2 separate regions of the Homo sapiens genome follow, and region 2 is linked to region 1. Evidence: promoter capture Hi-C in human tissues and cell types (Jung and others, 2019). All regions are on one chromosome and are shown on one strand. The core of a region is centred on a gene start or on the middle of the fragment in contact, and the rest is flanking DNA. Distances in the headings are between cores, read along the strand shown. Region 1 holds the start of RELN (reelin). Region 2 overlaps RELN (reelin).

Region 1 (6,677 bases), core at 419-2,918:
GTTTGGGGCAACACCACCTGCTCCAGCTAGGGCTGTCGACTGTGGCAGGGCAGTGCAGGACAAGAGCCTCTGAGGCCAGCCAGTCTGCCCTGCATCCAGCCTTTGTCACTGACTTTGGGCAAGTTATCAACATTTCTGAGTGCCTCCTCCCTTGTGAAATAGGGATATTTTTTGCCTCTCCAGTTGGTGTTAGGATTAAAAAGCTAAAGTACGTCTAGCCCCACAGCCTGCACCCCGCAGAGCTACAGTGTAGCAATTGTTACCACATCATATATATATATATGCACATACATATATGTATACACTGTATATTATTTATATGGCAGTTAAGCCTCTGGGGATTTTGAAGTAAGGGAAACAAGAAGCCAGCTAGAAATGGGCCCTTTCTACCTGTCATTCGGTCTCAGTAAGAGGAAGAAAAACAATTTCTTCCTTTTGCAACGAAGTGATTACAGAGGTCTCCCCTTGGACCCTGATTTTCACCGCCCCTCGCCCCACAAATGCAGGCAAAGGCACTATCCCTTCCAATTTTATAATCTACTCATTTCTGTACGTGCGGGTTTATCTGGCTTGGTGGCAAGCCAAGGGTGGGTGGGGAGAGGCATTAAAACCTGGCAACCCCGCTCCCCCATCTCCGGATGCCGCAGGGCTCCTGCCAGCCGTCCTCGGTTAAAAACGTGCTTATGGATTATTTCACTTCCCTGCAGTTCATGTGCAGCCGCTCATTACCACCCGCTTCAATCACCGCTGCCAGCATCTCCCCTGAACGTTTTTCCCTCCCCCGATTTCAGGGCCATTGGTCATAACCGACATTTAAAGGAAATAAACACTGATTTAAAAAATTACAACACCCATCTCTGCCTGAAGAGCCCAGAAGCAATGAATAACAGAACAGTCCGGCGAAGAGAGCCTGTCGGATCTTAGCTCCGCCAGCCCTTCCTGCCTTACAATTCCCCACAACCGAGCAGCACAAATCACCATTTCCAGGCACCACTCGAGTCTGCCAATTCCACTTTCGCTTAATCTCATTTTAAAATCCTCTACAGATGAGGCTCTGTCGCTGCCGCGAGGGGCCGGGCGGCCGCGGCGGGAGGGACAGGGGGCCTGGGTGGGAAGGGAGCGCGAGGGCCCCTAGCGGTTCGCGGCCTCGGGCGGATTCCCAGAACGAGTGCGGGCCGCCCGGACTGGCAGACTGCGAGCCCCGAGGGGCGCGGGACGCAGCCGGCTCAGACAAAGAAACCGGCGCCAGCGGCCGTCCCTGCCGCCCCTCTCCTTCCCTCACGCATCCTCCCAGGAAAAACAGGGCACACTGACGGCCAAAGGGGCTGGCCTTCCCCTTCAGACAGCTGGACGGGAGGTGCCCTCTGCGGGGCTTTGACGTCCCTCGCAGAAGAGTCGCGGGCTCAGCGGTCCTCGACAGCGTCCCCGTCCCGCTCCCCGGCGGGCGCCCCTCCCTGTCCTCCCGGGTGCGAACCGGGCGCTGGCCGGGGACTCCGGGGACGCGTGCGCCCCTCGCCGCGCGAGGTGCCGCCGAGCCAGCCCGAGAGGGCGGGGGGCGGGCGGGGCGGCGCGCGGGGGCGGGGGAGCGGCCGGGACACGTGTGGCGGCGGCGGGGGGGACGCGGCGCCCGGGGCTTTAAGAAGGTGTGGAGCGGGGCGGGCGCTTTCCCAGGCCTGGCCGAGGGGCGTCGCGCAGAGGCGGCGGCGGCGCACGGAGGCGGCAGACGACGCGCTCTCGGCGCCCGCAGCCCCGGTCCCGCGCTCCCGCGGCCCAAAGTAACTTTGGGAGCCGCCGTCTCCCGCGGAACTTCTCGGCGGGGGCCCGCTCCCAGGCCCGCTCCCGAGCCCGTTCCGCTCCCGTCCGCCTTCTTCTCGCCTTCTCTCCGCGTGGCTCCTCCGTCCCGGCGTCTCCAAAACTGAATGAGCGAGCGGCGCGTAGGGCGCGCGGCGGCGGCGGCGGCGGCGGCGGCATGGAGCGCAGTGGCTGGGCCCGGCAGACTTTCCTCCTAGCGCTGTTGCTGGGGGCGACGCTGAGGGCGCGCGCGGCGGCTGGCTATTACCCCCGCTTTTCGCCCTTCTTTTTCCTGTGCACCCACCACGGGGAGCTGGAAGGGGATGGGGAGCAGGGCGAGGTGCTCATTTCCCTGCATATTGCGGGCAACCCCACCTACTACGTTCCGGGACAAGAATACCATGGTAGGTACCGCAGCACCTCCGCGCTCGCCGCCGCCGGGTGCGCCCGCCAGCGCACCTTTCTCATCCCTTTCCTTCTTCCAAGGGGCCTTGGAAACAAGAACCATGACAACCCTGGCCCCAGCGATGCGCTTGGTCCAGGGAGCGAGAATAAAGTTAGTGGAGAATGGAGTCACAAGTTGGGATTCATTCTCCATGTCCCCACTCCCCGAACGCATCTCCTGGTAATGAGCTGGTGCTTGTGCTAAACGCCTGAGAATTCTTGGAGGCCGGTGTCTTTCCCCCTCACTCCCCGTACTTACCGCAGGCACTTTAAATTGAACCTGCGCATTTTGTTTCTTTACTCCTAGGACTTGGATTTCAGACCTTTGTCCTGCTCCCGGTCCCCCCAGATGGGTCCCCGGGGGGGCGTTGGGGGCTGTCGCTGGGCTTTGCGGGCAGGCTGGTGACAGATTGAAGCGCCCAGGTCTGTGGCTGCCCCGCGCCGCTCGACCGCAAAGTTCCCGCTGCTCACCAGCCAGGAGTCCCTGGCATTTCATTCAGTGTCATACAGCCCTCCTGAAAGGGAGCGGCTGCTTCCAGCTCCCTATTCTTTTGAAAGTGTGATTTAATATGTCAGTAATTGATGATTTTTCTGATTCCTGCCTTACTTTTACATGGTGCTTCTTGTTAGAATTATCTTTGTGATGTTTATTAATGACTTTGTATTTTATCTGCACAGCTTTAATTTCCAGGTAGAGGCTGGAATCCCTTATAATTTAGAGGTATCTTAAAAATGGAATCATTATGCAGCCCTGCATCAAAAATAAACATTACAGAAGAAATAAAATTTAGCTCCAAGAAATATAATATTATGTAGTACATGTATTTTAAGCTAGTACATCGAGTATGTGGAAAAATAAAAAATGTCTCTTTTCTGTATTTCTTCTGGGACTTCTGAACATTTCATGCCTATAGAGCTTTTAAGCAGCGACAGGCACTATTTAATTAGAATTTCAACCCCAAAATATTTATACCCAACCAAATAGAAACCATTGTCCAGTAGGCTCCTGTTAATAGTTTCTATCTCTAATAGGCTAACAATCATTGGCATGGCGGGAGATAATCTACGGGGTGCTAGCACTTAAGATAGACAAGCATTTAAAAATTGTAAGAATCCTTAAGATTTTTCTGTTTTTAAAAAAACCTTGATATCTATTATAAAATATTTAGCCTAAATAAACGTCTCCTAGAGGTTTTAAACAGTGCTTTTACAACTTCCTTGTGGCATGGTGGCAGCCTTGTCTGTAAAGCAGAAGTTTAATTTGGTGGAATTTTAGAAATAATTTTGGAAAATTAATGTTCTGTAACTAGTCCCTTTTTAGATAAAAGTGCTTACTACGCCCTCTTCCCAAGAACAATCTAGTGCTTTTCTGAGATAATGAGAATCTTTAAGTGGAAGGAGCAGCTACTGTGATGGCAACCAGACCTAACCCAAAGCCTGATTGACAGCCTGCTGCTCCGTGCGACTCTTAGCAAAAGTTCTTGCCCGGTATGATCTCTCAGTGAGAACGGTGGGTAAGTGAGTGAGGCTGGTCTCAAAGGCGTGACTGTCAGGTTATGATGGAAGACCATGTGATGATACAAAGCTTTATTATTATTTTTTCTGTTTTCCACATCCTTTGGAAGGTCTCGATATTGAAAACTTAACTAAAAACACCAAAATATCATACACCCTTTGGTTTTGCTCCCTTGCACCCTTGAATAGCAAATGCAAGTCACCTTAAGACTCACCATAATCACATATCTAAGTCTGAAAAGGAATGGATAACATAGAGTAGAAATAAAGTGTAAATACTTCAAGTTGGACATTGCGGAGGAGAATCTCAATTTCCACCTCTTTTCCACCACCAGAAAAGGTAGAGAAATTGTATTATGTAAGTTATGAAAGGTCAAATTATTATAAGCTTTGAGAATTGTGTCAGATTTTAAATTTCTGTTATCTATTTTATTAAACATTTAGATTTTGGAACTAGCTGTAGCTATAGGCCTTAAAGTAAGAGTTTTTTTTTTTTTTTTTGTAAAATGTTCTACAGGTAGAATACATGTTTAAAAATGAAGTGATGCTTATGTATGTCTCTTTTCCTTTTAGGCTTTTGAAAATTAATTTAAAAAATTCAGACACACACACACACACACACACACACACACACACACACACACAGCTTCTGTTAGAATTGAACTGCCAATAGGAAAACTTAATCTCATGTACTTTTGTGGTTGGCCCATTTTGATATGTGACCAAAATGAAAGGTCTTTTGCCCAAGAAGTCTTCTTAAACTTACAAGAAATGTGTAAAATGTTAGCTTGAGACTTTATTTCTAACCTTCTGGATCTTTAAAGTGTAACAGTTATATCAGAAAAAATCAGTCACATTTATGATTTACATTGAAGTCACCATTTGAATGAACCATGTTTAGGTGTAGAGCTGATAGTTGTGACTTTTTTTTTTTTTTTTTTTTTTTACCTAAAAGAATGCATTGAGATAGAGGTGGTGTGCACAATAGCACCTAACATAGAACATTTCTGTAGATCAGTCAGCTGCCCTCTGACACTGGGGTGTGTGGCAGAGCTCAGAATGTAAAATGGGGCAGCAATTGCCAGTCTAGAATAAAAGTGGTTCACAATTATAGGTCCCTGTATGTGTCGTATTTAAATATATCTATGGAATATCTTTAACAAAAATAAAAAATATATAGTACTAAAAAATCTGGAGCTTTCGAGTCTAACAGAATTGTCACAGATTTTTACATTAAGTAGTATATCCATCTATTTTCAGTACTGGCAACTCTATAAATAGTGCATGGTTACATCTGGTGTGTTCTCATCTCTCAATTAAATGTCATTTGGTATCTCTTTCTCATCTTCATATATCTTTTAAATTATGTTATCTCTGACTCTTTTGAAAGGGCATTATTAGTCACAATGAACCATGAGTATACCACAATGTAGAAGCTCAGCGAAAGGAGGTCTCTATACATCATGTTGAATTAGAAAGGTCTCAGGGTCAGAACATTTTTTTTTTCCTAGAATTTCCTTTTTTTTTGCACAAATCCTAAGACATGGTCAGTTTCCGCAATGTGCGTTTCGGGCACCAAACCTGGAATTTTTTGTTTTGTTTTGTTTTGTGTGGTAGAAAGTTGCAAATGATGGGGAAATAGGAAACAAGAACCTACATGGTTTAGTCAGGTAGCCATTTCTGTTTTCCAGCCATGCCCCGTAATCAGCACACCTTCTCCTAGGGACAAAGGCAGTATTGTGAAAAGTGTGATGGTTGGATTGAAGTCTGCACCTTTCCTCACCCATGGTCGTTCCTTTTCCTCACCCCCAGCCATCAGGTATCTACCATCCATTTTGTTTGCCACTCCTCGCCTTGCCCCCAATCAATTTATGGTGAATGTGACTTGTCAGTGTTAAACTTTCCCACATTTTTTATTGTAATTGTAGAAAGATGTCTTTCCCCTCTTTGCTTAAAGTAAGTTTAGCATCACTGAACAGCCAGATAATAGATATGGGGATAGAAAGACTTGGATGCCCCTGAAATCATGTCAGTAAGGAACTGCCCCTCACAAGGTTGGCTTTATTCAGTCCCCATCAAAAAGGAGAGGTCAGCCATTAGAAGAAGACATTGTGCATGAAAGACAAGCGTTAAGTAAATGAGTCTACCCAAAATACTTGAGCTTTGGTGAGACAATGTACCTAAATTTCTGAATGGACTAGAATTTCTGTTACTATGGTAGCATAAGATGGGGGAAGTGTTCCATTAACAATGAGAAGTATGCTCTAAAATATCAACTGAGAGAAAAAAATTTGGCCTTGAGTAGAATTGAATTGGTGATGTGGCATGATGTTTTAAAAGGGGGATTTTACTGTATTTTGTAAGTCCGGCATCACTATTGGTAATTTTTTCATGCTGTATATCTACTCCCACTTTAAAAAAAAATTATACTGTGAGACAGACAGGAAAATCAATGTTCTATTCCTAAAACTAAACATTTACTTAAAAGAAAGGTATAATCAGGATAGAGTATTGAGGGCACTTTATTTTGACAATTTCCAGTATTACTGTTAAAGGCACACGTGTTCTGAAATTAACTGGTTGCTATTTAAAAATTCTTGTTCAAAGGAAGTGCAATTTAATGACCTTTCAAATACCAGATGATATTTATGTCAGACGTAATTTTTGGAAATATATTCCAGATTTAATTCCTTTCAAAGGAATGATTTTATTATTTGAAATAAAGTAATTTGCCATTACTAAAGTAACTGCATTGCTGATCAGGTGATCGGTTATTTATCCTTCATATGTCTGATTCTGGAATCAGTGTATTTAAACTTTCAAAATCATTTGTCAAATGCAATTTATAAGTGAACTGAAGCTGCGTCCTGCTTATATAGGACTATGAAAATTGGGCATTTTAGAGCATTTTGCTCTATTTGTTACAT
Region 2 (6,875 bases), core at 1,782-4,281, 490 kb after region 1:
TGTTCCTATTCAGCCATCTTGCCAGCTGTCTCTCAAGCTGAAACTTTTATAAGAGTAAATGTGTTCCTGCTCAGGATGAAATACTGATAGATAAAAATATCAACAATAAAAATGTAGGATACTGATTATAACTCCGAGTTAAATCATTATGACTTAAGCAATTTGTTTCAACAAGAGAAAATTAAAGCTATAATGGTTATTTCTACTTTTTTTCCTCTTACCCATCTCTCTATTAATACTAACTATAACTTAGAAATTTAGGTGAAATAAGACCTTTTTTTCTGAGACGGAGTCTTGCTCTGTTGCCCAGGCTAGAGTGCAGTGGCGTAATCTTGGTTCACTGCAACCTCTGCCTCCCGGGTTCAGACGATTCTCCTGCCTCAGGCTCCTGAGTAGCTGGGATTACAGGTGCACGCCACCATGCCCAGCTAATTTTTGTATTTTTAGTAGAGACAGGGTTTCACCATGTTGGTCAGGCTGGTCTCAAACTCCTGACCTCGTGATCCACCCGTCTCGGCCTCCCAAAGTGCTGGGATTACAGGCGTGAGCCATGGCACCCAGCCTCTAGTTTTTTTTTTTTTTTTTTTTTTTTTACAAGAACATTTGGATGTTTCTGGAGAAAAAAATTTATAGAAAACAAAGGCATGATTAGCATTAATGTCAACATCAATTTTGGCTAATATTTAGGCCAAGATTTTATGTGAACCAATTTATTCTGTCTACCTAAATCCCACTGTATTAACAGCAGTGTCACATCATGGCTATCACCATCAACGAAGGGTGCTGTGCCTTGTTTAAACTACCTTCAGTTATTATTTCATCTTACTTGTCGTTGAAAGTGTTGTATTGAGAGTCATAAATTGTACAACAAAATAGTAAAATTGGTAAAGCTGTTAGCTATTCTTCTTGGTTAAGTATTCTGCCAAATAGAAATGCCAGACCATTAGCACAACTAACAGTTTGTAGGAGTGAGCCCAGGCCTTCCAAGGCATTCAGCCAGCATGGCAGAAGCACGGGGTCTGAGTTTCTCTCCAAACCCCCTACACAATATATTTGGCACTTTCTATAATTTGTCACCTGGGGCAATCATGGTGACTTTCTCTGTCCATTAGCAGAACAAATAATGAATCTGAAAATACAGGATGGATGTGGTACAGTGTATATCAAGTGATCAGCAGCTTTTTTGCTGCCAAGTCCTTGGAGAAGAATCATATCATATAGTTTTAATACCTTGATCTTGTTTTTCTGTTTATTAGATCTCAGTTGGATGTAAGGTGTCTGAAAAAATTGCCCAGAATCAAATTCATGTGCAGTATTCTACTGACTTCGGTGTGAGTTGGAATTATCTGGTCCCTCAGTGCTTGCCTGCTGACCCAAAATGCTCTGGAAGTGTTTCTCAGCCATCTGTATTCTTTCCAACTAAAGGGTGGAAAAGGATCACCTACCCACTTCCTGAAAGCTTAGTGGGAAAGTAAGTAGAAAACTAAAACAAAGCCTGGTTCCAAGCATCCAGAAGGTACACCATTAGGTACACTGTTGTCATGCCTGAAATTATGTGTATTTGTGGGTAAAGTGCTTTCTTTCTCCCTAACTCTAAAGGTTCTCTAATTGGTTACTTTCATCATAACTTCCATGATGAGCTAACTTCAGACCTCAATTTGTAATCCTCAGACTTGGCAATATGGGCTTTTGCAGACTCTTATTTTCTAAACCTCAGTATCTTAAAATGGGAACAGAGCAATAGTGATGGCCTTGGAGCCAGATGAAAAGGTGTACCCTACCTTCTCAACCTTGTAGACTGTGGACCTCTGTGCACTATATACTTTCCACATTATTGCCTTATCAATCCATGATAGACAGAGCCAGGAGCAAATCCTAACTCATCATGCTATTTCTACCACTGTGACTTATGGGATCCATTTTTCTCTTATCAAAGCATTGTATTCTGATCCTGCAGTGAGAGGTAATTAGCCTGGACCAGTGATGAGCAGAGGTGATTAAACCTTGCTCTGCAAAGTCTGTGGATATATTAATTTAAGGCAATTCCAAAAGATTTCTCTTCTACTTTAAAAGTAAAGATACACAAAAGAAAATAACAGGTGCACCTAGACTGTATTAATCAGATAGTCTGACTAAACAAATCTTGTGAAACATAAAGAGTCTTTGAATAAAGTGCTTACGCACAGTTCCCAGTGTCCCATAGATATTATTATTATTATTATTACCACTCAGGGTTTTCTGGAATGTATCTAAAGAGCTTATTCAATTAACATACTAAGGAATTAAATCAGGATGCTTTCAGCTGCAAGGAACAGAAAACCCAATTCAAACCAGCTCGAAATTTGTTATATCTATAATGAACGAATCCAAAGATAAGTGAACTCTAGGGCTGGTTGATTTGTAAGTTGAACGGTGTCTTCAGGGACAGCGTTCCTCCTTATCCTCTTAAGAGAATATCTGCTGTCCACGGCACTGGCGGCATACTCAGCTCTCTCAGGCTGGTTTTGCTATTGAACATGAGATGGCAGCCAGAGAACTGGGGCAGGATGCTTCCGTACTTACGTCCAGTGAGAAAGAAAGATAGTTGCTTTTGTTCCAAGACAGCCAGAACAAGCGCCACCTTGCATCCCACTGGTACCAATTAGCCACTCAATAGTTGAGTTAGGAAATGATTATTTCATGGATTATCTGGGGTGAAATGGATGCTGGGGACCCACCATGATGTCTATCACAGACTCATTTTCTCCTCCCATTCTCTTTTTGTAATAATGAGGTATAATTTACATTCAGTAAAATACATACATCTTAATTGTTCAGATCAATGAGTTTTTAGTTGTGTAACCCATGTAACCACCACATAAAACAAGATACAGAACATTTATATCACCCCAGAAAGTTCCTTCATGTACTTTGGATTCTTTAAACCAAAATAGTATGGCATATTTTAATATAAGGATAATTATGAGGCTTGTTTTTTCCCCCAGAAGACAGAGAAGAACAAAGATGAAATTAAAATCTCAAAGAAAATGTCCTTTAATATAACCCTTTCAAAATTGTTTTCTAATTAGCATAGTTACTCTGAGAATATTGATTGTCTTCAGGGAATTCAGAAAATGCTGCCTCCCGACCGCCTGAGGGCTGTGTGTATGCTGACAAGGCTCTTGTCAAAGGCGTCACTCACCTTCTGTACAATTTCAGAAATGCAATTAGTGAATCTAAATTGCATCATGACCACGGAACTCCAATTCAGAAGAAACCTGATTTATGAAAGTTACAGATTTGTGTATTTAAATATTTCTATTTATTTCTTGACACAGAGATTCCACTGATTTAATTTTGTTGTGCAAGTGTGCTCAGATATTCTGAAATTTCAATAAAACCAGCTTGAAAGTTCCATTACTAGAAAGATAAGAGTGGTCAGAAAACATTTTTTATTAACCTATTTCATCTAGTAAGAGTATCTTAAATGTTTTTTCTCTTGAGTACTGAATACACATGCAGGACAATGGACCTAAATACAGTTAACTTTTGTTTTTCACTCCTTTGCTTTTGCATTGTCAATAGTCCGGTAAGGTTTAGGTTCTATCAGAAGTACTCAGACATGCAGTGGGCAATCGATAATTTCTACCTGGGCCCTGGATGCTTGGACAACTGCAGGGGCCATGGAGATTGCTTAAGGGAACAGTGCATCTGTGATCCGGGATACTCAGGGCCAAACTGCTACTTGACCCACACTCTGAAGGTAAGGGTAAAGCCCTGGACAAGACGCATTACTCACATCATGGGTCATGCCTAGGAACCAACTTATGTATGAGACATAATCTATAACAATGTCCTTTGGGTCCCCCAGGAAAGAAAATCCTTTGAATAGAAACTTTAAAAATGTCTTATGTTTCCTAAGTACAAGAATATTAGGATCAAGTTCTAGTACAGTTTATCCAGTTCATAAAATGAGCCAGACTATATGGATTACAAATGATAAATACTCTGGGTTTCTTTTTTTTTTCTTAAGCAGACTATTTTTAAAGTCAATATTAAGCCTTTTTTACTTCACTTTTTCAATTGATGCACTATTTGAAGGAAGATATTATTGTTATTATTGTTATGAAATAAAGCAAATAATATACATTATCACAAAAGACCAAATTTTCAAAAAGGCCTAAACAGTACCTGAATTTTTGTTTAGAAAATTCTGTGTTCTGATTCGTTGACTGCTGAAATGGGGTTGTGTATTAAGAATGGAGAGGTCACTTTTGAAAGCTTTAGCTGTTACATCATTATTTAATATGCAAAGCAAATACAGTTACCCAACACAGTTGCCACATATGCACTCTATTTCTGTGAATAAACATAGTGCATTTGTCATTACAATAACAGAAAAATGACTAGGCTAAAAAAAGCAAAATTCCTAGTGATTGAAATCCAACATATGAGAGTCAACAATGTAAATCAAACCTGTTCTGTCATTTGTGTTTGTTCTAATACTTCAACTATGGAATTGAACATTTTTTAAATAAAATTGGAACAATGCTCATTTGTGTCTGAAGATGTAAGTACATTATTAACAAATGAGGTTACCACATGAAAAACAAAGCTTTATATACCACAGGTAATTAATAAACTTTTGAAAATCTAATTTCTTTCATGAGCACTCAAATTTTATTAGTATTCCTCAGTTGGATAAGAAATTGTACAAATCTATAAATTATAAACCCTGATTAAAATCTTCTAATGAAAGTTTACGTGGTTAACCATGCATTTCTTCTAACACTTGTCTTCTTACAAGCTTTCAATTATAAAACGTATTCATTTGCTATCCATTAGTGAGACTAAGGCAGACTGACATTTGACTGTATGTCTTTAACTATAGAATTGATTATCTTCTAAGTTTGAGAAAAAGAAACTGTTTAAATCATTTTAACTACACAGTAAGATAGAACTCTCCTTAAATGAAAAAATATAGGTTTTTCTGTATACAGTTATTGCATTGCAACTAGAACAAATTGGCTTTATGATATCTTTTCATCATTTTAAACAAGAAATGTGTCTCTACCTAATACAAATCTGCATTATGGATAAAATGAAAGTACTGTAGACAGAATGAATAGGGAAATTAAGACCTTGACTATGAGGAGATAAGCAAATTTTACAAAAAAATGTAGCCAAGAACCTTTATACTTTGTACACTCTCTGAAAAATAGATTTTCTGGTTGTCAATCATTCTTAGTTAAAAGGATAAACTGGAGACTCAGGGGAAAATATTGTATTCTAGATTTTGAGTACTTATCACCCTGCAACTTGGCCTGATAAACAGGTGAAACATCTTTCAAACTGCCTTCAAAGGTTTACTTTCTTTTGACTTATATAGAGAGATTTGGTTTCAAGTGTCCCTGCCTAACCATGTAGACCTTCAAGGTTCATTCTGTGCTAGAGGCTGAAGGATCCTGGCTGCCTGAAGCAGTCTCCAAAGTGAGGGCACACACACCAGGACAATCCATTGGGGAATGTCAGGGGGAAAGTGCTGGATTGCATGTTTATATTTTATCTTATTGCTTTCAAATTCCTTTTGGCATGTTTCATAATATAATACATTACAATAATACTTTTATATACTATATAAACAAATATACATGTTTGGGGGTATATGCTTAAATAACTAACTAACTTTTTACAAATAGAAGTGTTACTATAATATGGCCAGGCATGGTGGCTCACACCTGTAATTCCAGCACTCTGGGAGGCGGAGGTGGGCAGATCACTTGAGGTCAGGGATTCGAGACCAGCCTAGCCAACATGGTGAAACCCCATCTCTATGAAAAATACAAAAAATAGCCAGGTGTGGTGGCACACACCTGTAATCCCAGCTACTCAGGAGGCAGAGGCATGAGAATTGCTTGAACCCGGGAGGCAGAGGCTGCAGTTAGTTGAGATTGTGCCACTGTACTCCAGCCCAAGTGACAGAGCAAGACTTCGTCTCAAAAAAAAAAATTGATATAGTCAACTTTACAATTATTTTAAATTTCAATTATTAAACATTATTTGAGCAGTTTAAATGATTTTCAATATACGACAGGAAAAAAGATTGTGGAAATAGCCTTTTTTAAACATCTTTGAAAAGCATTTGAAATCAGCTCTATTTTTTTTAAGTCCAAGACATCACTCTGTATTTTCTTAAATATTCCATAGTTATCTGAAATTGTTTTTTTAACCACATCTGGCTTATTTTATTTCCAGACTTTCCTGAAGGAACGCTTTGACAGTGAAGAAATCAAACCTGACTTATGGATGTCCTTAGAAGGTGGAAGTACTTGCACTGAGTGTGGAATTCTTGCCGAGGACACTGCACTCTATTTTGGGGGATCCACTGTGAGACAAGCGGTTACACAAGATTTGGATCTTCGAGGTGCAAAGTAAGTGAATTTTTTGTTAGTTATTTCTATTGCACCATAGCAAATTGGTCCCAAAGCAAGGAACACTTGTATGGAAGAAATTATCCAGGACTTGAGTAGAGTATTTGTTCTAATGAATTATTCTGATGGATAAAATGTGCTTGCATTCAGGTTCCTGCAATACTGGGGGCGCATCGGTAGTGAGAACAACATGACCTCTTGCCATCGTCCCATCTGCCGGAAGGAAGGCGTGCTGTTGGACTACTCTACCGATGGAGGCATGTGTCAGGGGTGAAAACCACCCCTTGGAGCAGATTCCCAAATTCCATCCAACACCCTCAGAAAAGTCTCTGCAAAGCTTTGCTGACTTCACAGTTTGAATTGTGAAACTCACAAAGAAAAAGCTACAGATTTTGTTTGTATTACATGTTCCGTACAAGTGACTTCTGTGTTATGCAAAAAGGGAAGGAGAGAAATCACATTAAA

The links. The method cuts DNA at HindIII sites, captures the fragments that hold promoters and counts their contacts. A contact is called where the count stands out against the background at its distance.
Region 2: a contact is called between a fragment that was not itself captured here and the fragment with the promoter of RELN in region 1, in 3 of the 25 tissues and cell types used here (H1 embryonic stem cells, IMR-90 fibroblasts and lymphoblastoid cells).

The regions. Positions count from the first base shown.
Region 1 is chr7:103,984,649-103,991,325 of GRCh38, reverse strand. RELN (reelin) reads left to right here and starts at 1,668. Exons shown (of 65, transcript NM_005045.4): 1 at 1,668-2,195. The coding sequence starts at 1,970. The HindIII fragment of the contact is 8,012 bases long and covers 1-3,979 here.
Region 2 is chr7:103,497,612-103,504,486 of GRCh38, reverse strand. It overlaps RELN (reelin), which reads left to right. Exons shown (of 65, transcript NM_005045.4): 52 at 1,257-1,471; 53 at 3,565-3,742; 54 at 6,235-6,410; 55 at 6,561-6,667. SLC26A5-AS1 (SLC26A5 antisense RNA 1) reads right to left here. Exons shown (of 4, transcript NR_110141.1): 3 at 1-83. Among named protein-coding and RNA genes, the nearest start is that of SLC26A5, 55 kb to the right of the region's middle. The HindIII fragment of the contact is 5,472 bases long and covers 296-5,767 here.